2 separate regions of the Homo sapiens genome follow, and region 2 is linked to region 1. The links are contacts of gene promoters, found by promoter capture Hi-C in blood cells and fetal thymus (Javierre and others, 2016). All regions are on one chromosome and are shown on one strand. Each heading gives the region's core, a stretch centred on a gene start or on the middle of the fragment in contact. The rest is flanking DNA. Distances are from core to core; before and after follow the strand shown. Region 1 holds the start of ASTN2-AS1 (ASTN2 antisense RNA 1). Region 2 overlaps PAPPA (pappalysin 1).

Region 1 (4,558 bases), core at 1,066-3,565:
CCCTCCCCACTCCATCCCTGGAGGCAACAAGCCTCCAGAAGGGTGGGGAGAAGGCCCAAGCAAAGATGAGTCAGGTTTTCTGGTCATGCAAGCAACACCATTTAACCAGGCTGAGGTGAATCATTGAGAAGGAGGTGGGACCTGGGAGGTGGCAGAGAGAGGTAGATTTCCAAATGTGTGTGTGTGTGTGTATGTGTATGCATGCATGTATGTGAGAGAGAGAGACAGAGAGACAGGGACAGAGAGGCAGAGAGACATAGAGACACACAGAGAGAGACAGAGAGAGACACACACAAAAAACAAACACAGAGAGGAGACACACAACACACAGACACAAAGACACACACTCACACACAGAGAGAGGAGAGAGAGAGAGAAATAGAGAAAGAGACCAAGAGAGAACTACAGCCAGAAAATACTCAGAAAGACTGAAGCAGAAACTGAGAGCCACAGTGAGAGACAGAGGAGAAATGGAGAGAGAAAGAGAGAGACATAGATAAGAACACATAGGGCCAAAGACAGAGAACCAGAAATAAAAATGCAGAAAAAAGACAATCAGAGAGAAGTGGATAGAAGGTCAGAGACCTAGAAAGACAGATAGAAATAGAGAGACATAGACAGGAGTTGGTGAGGAGAGAGAGAGAGAAACAGAGAAAATCGGGGTCAGAAAGACCAAGACCAAGGCAAACAAGAAAAACAGAAGGAAGAAAGGAAAGAAGGAAGGAAGGAAGGAAGGAAGGAAGGAAGGAAGGAAGGAAGGAAGGAATGAATGAATGAATGAGGGAAGGAAGGAGAGAAGGAAGGAAGGAAGATGGAAGGAAAGAAAAAAGGAAGGAGGTAGAAAAGAAGAAGAGAATGAAGGAGGGAGGGAGAGAGGGAAGGAAGGAAGATGAAAGGAAAGAAAAAAGAGAGGAAGGAAAGAAGAAGGGAAGGAAGGAGGAAAGGAGGGAGGGAGGGAAGAAAGATGGAAGGAAAGAAAAAAAGGAAGGAGGAAGAAAAGAAGGGAAGGAAGGAGAGAGGGAGGGAGAGAGGGAAGGAAGGAAGATGAAAGGAAAGAAAAAAGGAGGAAGGAAAGAAGAAGGGAAGGAAGAAAGGAAGGAAGGAAGGAGGGAGGAAGGGAAGGAAGATGGAAGAAAAGAAAAAAGGAAGGAGAAAGGAAAGAAGGGAAGGAAGTAAGGAAAGAAGAAAGGAGAAAGGAAGGAAGAAGGAAGAAGGAGGGAGGAAGGAAGGAAGGAAGGGCACGGCAGGACCAGCTAGAAGGGCATCTTCTGGAGATGGATGCCCTTGAGTGACCAGGGAAGCTTTACTTCTGGTCTCACCGCTACTCGGGGCAGATGATCTGGGAGGAGGAGGGGGGGAGAGTGAGAGGGTGACTGGCATTTCCATTCAGCTCCCCTCATCTATCCCTCCCACCCACATATAGAGGTTTTCACTCTATTAAAATGACTCCCTTGCTTCCTCATTTATGTTAAAATTTTCCTTGAAATAAAGAAAAGGAAACAAGGTCACCCTTCAATCCACAATGAAAACTATAAAAGCGTTTTTAGGCTTGGAAAATTTAGCTGGTCAGTTTTTCCTACTGTTTAATAACTGCCTTGGGTTACACTGAATGAGTAAACATGTTTTACAAGCTTCTAATTCATACCTAACCCTATGAGTTCACAGCTTTACATAATATATACACACACATATACTATATATACACACATGCACACATACATACTGCAATGTAAAATATAAACACACATACATACTTAATATATATATGAGTGTGTTCGTGTGGTGTAAGTAATCTTTCCAATTTGTGCAGCTCATTAGGGCTTACAAAGCACGCTCTTTCCTCATTTAATCCTCACGATAATCCTGTGAGGTAGGCAGTTTAGGATTATCATCCCCAGTTTACAGGTACCTGTGGTTAAGGTAGAGAGACCAAGAACCCACAGGTCTCTAAGGCATCACAGTCCATATCACAGTTCTGCTCTCCATAGTCCCAAAGCTGACTTCATGAACTTGGGTAGTGCAGTGCCCACTTCTGGACCTGCAAGGACCCAAAACCATGGGGATCCTGAGGCATCATCTGTTTCAGGGCTTCATTGTACAGACAGGAAAACTAAAGCTCAGACTATTACTGCTAGCCTATAGGGTGCCTCTGTGCAAATTGGAAAAACAATAGAAAAATAAAAATCATCTCTTTCTTAAGATACTTCCCTCCCTTGTTCCAATATTCTGATTTGTTAGAACAAGACACTTGATCAATGATTAATACATGTTTATGATGTCTACAATTGGAATGGTGAGCTTTGGAATGTGGTAGCATTGTGAGCAGCAAAACCTGTGCGACTGCATCTGACATCGCCAGGATGGGGGCCCAACCAAGGTGAGGGCAAAGAGGACGGTAAGGGAGAAAGAAAGAAAGAAGGGAAGGTAAGATGGGAGAGACAGCACCTACTTTCTGAGGTCTAAGAAGAAAACCCATTTTACTTAAAGGACATTGAGATAATAATAATAACTAGTGTTTATTAAGCTCTTAATCTTTTCTGATACTTACAGTAACCCTGTGAGAGTGTTTCATATTGCTAACTACTGCTTGTATTTCTATCTTACACTCTCAAGTAATAATAATATTATTCAGAATAACAGTGACAATTGATATAACTTAAGCATTCACAATGTTAGATACTATGCCTAGTATTTCATGTACTGCATCTCATTTCAGCTTAATAACAATATGCCAGCCTGGGCGACATAGTAAGACCTCATCTCTACAAAAGTACAAAAATTAACTGGGTGTTGTATCGTGCATCTGTAGCTCCAGCTACTCAGGAAGCTGAGGTGGGAGGATCACTTGAGCCTGGGAAGTCAAGGCTGCAGTGAGCCAAGATAGTACCACTGCCCTCTAGCCTGGATGACCAAGTGAAATCCTGTCTCAAAAAAAAAAAAAAAAAAACCCAAAACAACAACAACAAAAAACACAAGTTAGCTTATTTCCCCAAATTTACAAATGAGTATATCAAGATTCAGAGAGATCCACTAACTTGCCTAAGGTCACTTGGTTAAATTGCGCAACTGAGATTTGACTATTATGAGGGAAGAGTAAAGGTCAGACACACTTTCACATCCTCTAAAAGTGACTGAAATGCTTTACATTCTCAATAATTACTAACTATGCTAGCACATCAGAGAACCCTACTTTGCATATGGGGCATCAATATCTCTGACTTCTCATCTCGTGTGCTTTTAGTATCTGATAGTCTACTCATTCCTTTAATCGCTTTGAGGCTACTGATGAATGGAACCATCTAGATCATGAATCCAGGGAGTCTCTGCTCTGTGGAAACAATGTTGGTTCCCGCTCAGCTTTTCCCTGGTGCCCAGCTCGCCTCCCTGTTTCCACCTCTCCCTTACTGGATACCCAATCAATGCAAATGGATCTGAGTAGTCATTAGAATTTATTTTTTAAGAAAAGCAAGGCAAAACCAAACCAAAACCAGAAGTCTGCCACAATATGCAAAGAACCACCTTTGGATTCCAATAAAACTGGGCTTCCTACCTTTAGCATCCTCTTGTGTAAGACAGGAATAAGAAGTATTACCATTTTAATAGAATGTTTCAAGGATTCAATGTGTAAAATATCTGACCCAGTGCTTCTCCTTAATGTATAAAATGTATTCCAAAACAAGAAGTGGCGATGGGTCGGGGGCACTCATGTTGCACTAGAACTTTACAGTGTACCTGGTATTTTCATATCCATCAACTCCTAGGCAATCCAAAGCCTCACTACTGCTCCAGCTAGAGCGCCTTCCCTCTCCCTTTGCTGACTACACTTCAATGACTGTGCCCTCCTTGGTGCTCCTGAGGATGCTCCAGGGGCTTTGCTATTGCTACATCCTCAGTCTGGAGCAGTCTACATTCAGCTAGCCACATGGTTCACTTCCTCCCACTTTCCGGTCTCTGCTCAAACATCACACCCTCAAAGAGGTTTGTCCTGATCACTGTAACTAAATGGTATGCCCCCAACCTCTATCCTCATACCCTATTTTTCTTTCAAACACATAGTACACTTTGACTCTGTATTGCACATCTATTACTTTACCATCATTGCCTCCCAACCCTCTGTACCGGGAACATAAGCTCCATGATAGGAGCTTGTTCAGTGCCTTCTCCTCAGCTTCTGGAATAGTGTTCGGTATGTAGTAGGTGTTCAATAAGTGGTTACTGAATGACTTAACTCATAGTTGTTCATGAAACTCTGAGAGGCTGGCAAGGCTGGCATTCTGATGCACACTTTACATGTGAATAAACTGAGGCCCAAGGAGGTGAAGAAAATTTTCTAAAGTCCTTCAGCTGGTGGATAACAGGAGTGGGACTAGCAAACTGAGCTGCCAGACTCAAATCCAAAGCTCTTTGTATTTCACCAACTTGTATTTCCTATTATTGCTCCCCTTCACCTCCAAGCATGCCCTGGGAAATGGGTGTTATTTGGGATTTTACCTCTTAGGCGGGAAGCCCCAGAGATGGAGGAGTAAGAAGGAGTGACTTCACATGTTCTCCACCCAGA
Region 2 (4,558 bases), core at 732-3,231, 300 kb before region 1:
CAGCTACACCTAGACATAAATGTAAGCTCTCCTGGGCCCACCTATCTCCAACTCATGTTTTTTGTGAAAACATGTACAAATTATGGTCACAGGAATGTTTGGTTTCGTGAGCTTGGGGCTTTCTGTGACATGGGCGGCCTTGACACGCTAGATCTCAGACGTATCCTATTCACAGCAGGGTAGAGGTGTAGGTTTTCCACCCATAGAAATGATCTGTGGAGCATCAGGCAGCTGTTACTAATTTCAATGTATTGATAAGGAAACTGAGGCCCCATTAGTCAGGAATTATTGAATTTGAGACTGAGAGTTAAATATTTTTACTCTTACTTTCCCTAATTTAATTCAATTCCATCAAAATCTACTGAGGGCTCACCAGGTATCAAGCTTTGTGCGGAGAACTGGGTAAACAGAGATTAATAAGGCACCTCGCCTTCCCCCAGGTGGCCACAAGTGTGTATTATGTAATAGAAAGAGGAAGCAATTTATTGAAATGGCAAATGAGAGACAGTGCTCTGCTAGTAGGAGGTGGACGAGTATGGAGATGTTAAAAGGGGTGCAGGTGAGGAGAGCATCAGGGAAGTCTTCCTGGAGGAGGGATACCAGAACAGACTTTGGATTTGTTCATTAGAGAACAAAATGCTGATCAGAGTCCCAGCAGAGGAAACAGCATGAATAAAATTGCCAATGGGATAATGCACCGTACAGGGTACAGAGATGTTTTCTGTATGCAGTGGGGTGCTCAAGAAAGGTTGTAGAGATAGATGAGGCTAAGGAGTAGGTTGTGTCTTGGAGGCTATATTGGGAACTTGAACTTTGTCTTTCATACATGGGGAGACCCTTTATTATTCTAAGAGGGGAAGAGCAGGAAACCATCACTAATGTGTGCTACTGGCTGGGCTCTGTGAGAACTCCTTGGGAGAGACAGCATTAAGAAAAAGGAAAACATTGCTAAGTAGCAACTTGAACTTAGTAAGGTATGAAGAAGGTTCTCTAAGCCTCTGGAGATAACGATACTACCTACCTCTGTGTTCATAAGAAGCCTAACAACTTTGGCAAGTCTCTAAAACTCTCGAGAACTTAATTTTATGATCTGTAAAATGGAATCATCTTACTTATAATATTATTGGGGGAATTCAATAAGGTAGTATTTTTAAAGTGCTTAGCAAAATGCCTGGCACTCATAGTAGCTCTAAATTATTTGGAGAGGGCCTGTTATCTTTTTGGGGGCATGATAACAGCCAAGGTTCTTTTTCTGTTTCAGAGCCTACTTGGATGTTAATGAGCTGAAGAACATTCTTAAATTGGATGGATCAACACATCTCAATATTTTCTTTGCAAAATCCTCAGAGGAGGAGTTGGCAGGAGTAGCAACTTGGCCATGGGACAAGGAGGCCCTGATGCACTTAGGTGAGTCTTAGAAACTCCTTCAGGAGGCAACTAGAGTAGGACAGTAATACACTTAGTGCGATGATGATCATTGTTACGATCATGATGGTGGTGGTGGTAGTTGTGAGGGTGAACAACCGATTTATTTATCACTTTTTAATTTACAAAATTCTTTAGCATCCTTTATCTCATTTTGACCACCAAGCAATTTTCTGAAGGAAATAGCACCATATTATTAACCATGTTTTATCAATGGGGAAATGAGACCCAGAGAGGAAATGGGGCTTATCCAACATCACACGCAAGACAGTGACAGTCACAATTGGAATTTAAGTTTCCAACACTGCCCATTGTTTGCTTTCTCCTTATACCCTCTGTCTCCTAGTTCCTGCAAATATCTTCTCAGTCTGGTAACCACACTGTACTGGCACAGCCAGTCATGGGTTGGCTTAAAAGACACCAAAGAGGCAAGAAAAAGTGAGTTTGCAAGAACTCTGTGTTCCTCCATGTTCCACCCACCAACACCAACAGGAACTCTTCTTACATTCAAATTATACATATCCATAAACAAGACATAAGTTTGTACAAACCAATCACCAAAAGTTAGACATGACAACAGTTTCTGAACCAGGCCCTGTAAGCAAACATTGCAGTTCTTTAATTTTATTTTTTCCATGCTCTCTTCCAGGACACATCTATATGTAAACATGCATTTTTTTAACTGTACATTTTTAAAATCATAGCATAGATGAAATTCTGTGTTCTTTTTTCACTTAATATTATGCTATCTACTTTTTTTTCCATGTCGCAGAAGTCTTATCCTTAACTTCCCACCCATATTTTTTTCACTTAATCACAAAAGAAAAGCACCCTTGTGGGTTATTTTCCCCTCTCTAAAGCCAAGATTTTTAATAGCCACATAATATTCCCTTGAACAAGGGCACTGCCATTTATTTAATCATTTTCCGTTTGGTAGAATGTTCCCATTATTTACAAGAATGAATCGTGATGACTCAGTGAACATCTTTATCTGAGAATGTTCAGGCTCAGCAGTGACAGTGCTGGATGTATCCTCAGGCCTGCCTGGTCTCCTGGTGAAACAGAGTCCAGTAGCTTCTCCATTGCTATTCTGTCTTGGAAATGAGAGATTTAAATAATGCAAGTTTTGCTCAATGAAACCATAGACTTAGTTCCCTCCAGACGACTCTCATTTCTCAATTGTTTTTTAGAGAATGAAACCAATTTGTGTGTGTGTGTGTGTGCGTGTGTGTGCATGTGTGTGGTTGTATAAATAAAGATAGATACAAAGATAAATATCTACTTGTTCTCAGCTGGGAGGATTTTATGCCCCAGGAGACATTTGGCAATATCTAGAGATGTTTTTGCTTCTTACAAATGGGGGAATGCTACTGGCATCTAGTGGGTAGAAGCCAGTGATGCTGCTACATGTCCACAATGTCCACTACAAAGAATTATACAGACTAAAAAGTCAATAGTGCTGAGGTTGAGAAATCCTGAGACATATGGTGTATGGGTAGATAGATTGGCAGATAGACAGACACAGACAGGTGGGGTTGGGCAGAAGAGAGCGTGCAGCTTAGGCAAACTTGAAGATGATCAGCTTATATCACATGCCTAGTATGATATATGGGAGTAATGCTAGACTAGAGCCAAAATTCGTGTTTGTTCTCAGCTGTGACTTTACTTAGCAGTATGGCCTTAGGCAATTCTCTTTCCTTCCTCAGGTCTCAATGTCCTTCAATATTAAATAAGCAGGTCCTAGGAGGCCAGAAGACCCTAAGGATCCTTCTCAGTTCTGAAATTCTGTCCTATTAGAAAAGCAACTGAAAGGGCCATGATCAGAGTCTGAGAAGGATTGAGTAGCAGGCTTCTACTGTTAGAAAAAACTACTCCTGATAATTCCATAAATTTCAGAGTCTGGCTCAGGGCCAGGAATAAGGGAGGCTATAAATCCATAGCATGTTATAGTATTTCAGGATGATGTCAGGCTCAAGCTATTTCACCTTTTAAGAGAAGCAATGAAACAGGACTGGGGCCCAAGTGCTGTCACTCTGTGAAAAGGGGTGAGTTGGGAGGGGATGAGGTAAAGCAAACAGGGCTAGCCTAGACATTAAGTCTGCAATCCAATCATCATCCCTGGAATGGTCCTGTCCTCTCATTACCTCAATAATGAAGCTTCATGGAGAGACAGAGAATCATTGGCATTATTGTAGCTGCTTATTTTAGAGCTCACCAGAGATGCAAAGTCCATTTTCCACAGTCACAAGGCCAGTGTGAAGCAGAACAAGGATTGCAACCTATGTCAGCTAACTCCAGCTGGACTCCAGGCTGCCCTCTCCCCATCCCAAGAGATGCTGCTCATGAGTAATTCCTCTGCAGTAGCCCCAATCAAACCCAATTTATTACAACCATATTTTTCCCCTCTTTTTCTGCTATTACACCATGATCCCTGGAAAAAGCCTTGGGTGGGAAGCGGATTATGTTTCATGTTATGATTGACAGAAAATAATTGAGAAAGATTTCCTGTCTCAATTTCTCTTCCTCCCTGCCTCTGCCTGCCCCCTTCTCATACCCAAGTGAATGTGCACACCCGCACACTCACATGCCCTCTCACACATCTTTATCTTTGTGTTAGAAAGCTCTAAGCAATTCAAAATTGCTCAGAAATTCAATCTCTGAAATTAAGTCCTCCAGTGACCCTAACACGGAGACAGAGTCCTTCTTCAAAATCAGAGACCTCTGCATAGACTCTATGAGTCCCTTGACTGAGCAAGCACACCATTCCAGAGGTTCAGTCTAAGATAAAACCCTCCATGCCCATGTGGGGCTTGCCAGCTCAAATCAACAAGACCCTACCTCCTCACCATTCTTTTAGAAGATGCTGCTCTACACCTAAAGTACCTACTTTCAAGGTTCACAGACCTGAGTTTTAACCTTCCCTTAAACATTTTAAAATTTTAAAGTTTAATTATCTCTCTGGCAGCCTGTATGCATCTTTCCAATGCCTAAAATGAACACAGCACAAATACTACCCATAAATTCTGCTGAGATCTGTTCTGTCTATCTGCCCAAGCCAAGCAATTCTCAATCTTCTGAGGCATGTGATATAGACCATTGCTTCTCAAACCAGAATATACAGACAAGTCATTCA

The links. Contacts are between HindIII fragments. The CHiCAGO score rates a contact against its expected background, and 5 or more counts as called.
Region 2: a fragment that was not itself captured here is called in contact with the fragment with the promoter of ASTN2-AS1 in region 1 in 9 of 17 cell types (M2 macrophages, M1 macrophages, M0 macrophages and 6 more); the score reaches 20.4 in M2 macrophages.

Annotation. Positions count from the first base shown.
Region 1 is chr9:116,501,968-116,506,525 of GRCh38, forward strand. It overlaps ASTN2-AS1 (ASTN2 antisense RNA 1), which reads left to right and starts at 2,316. Exons shown (of 12, transcript NR_033973.1): 1 at 2,316-2,377. All of the region lies in intron 19 of ASTN2 (astrotactin 2), which reads right to left. RefSeq lists an enhancer at 3,516-3,685. The HindIII fragment of the contact is 9,663 bases long and covers 1,630-4,558 here.
Region 2 is chr9:116,206,195-116,210,752 of GRCh38, forward strand. It overlaps PAPPA (pappalysin 1), which reads left to right. Exons shown (of 22, transcript NM_002581.5): 3 at 1,262-1,407. Among named protein-coding and RNA genes, the nearest start is that of PAPPA, 55 kb to the left of the region's middle. The HindIII fragment of the contact is 3,198 bases long and covers 383-3,580 here.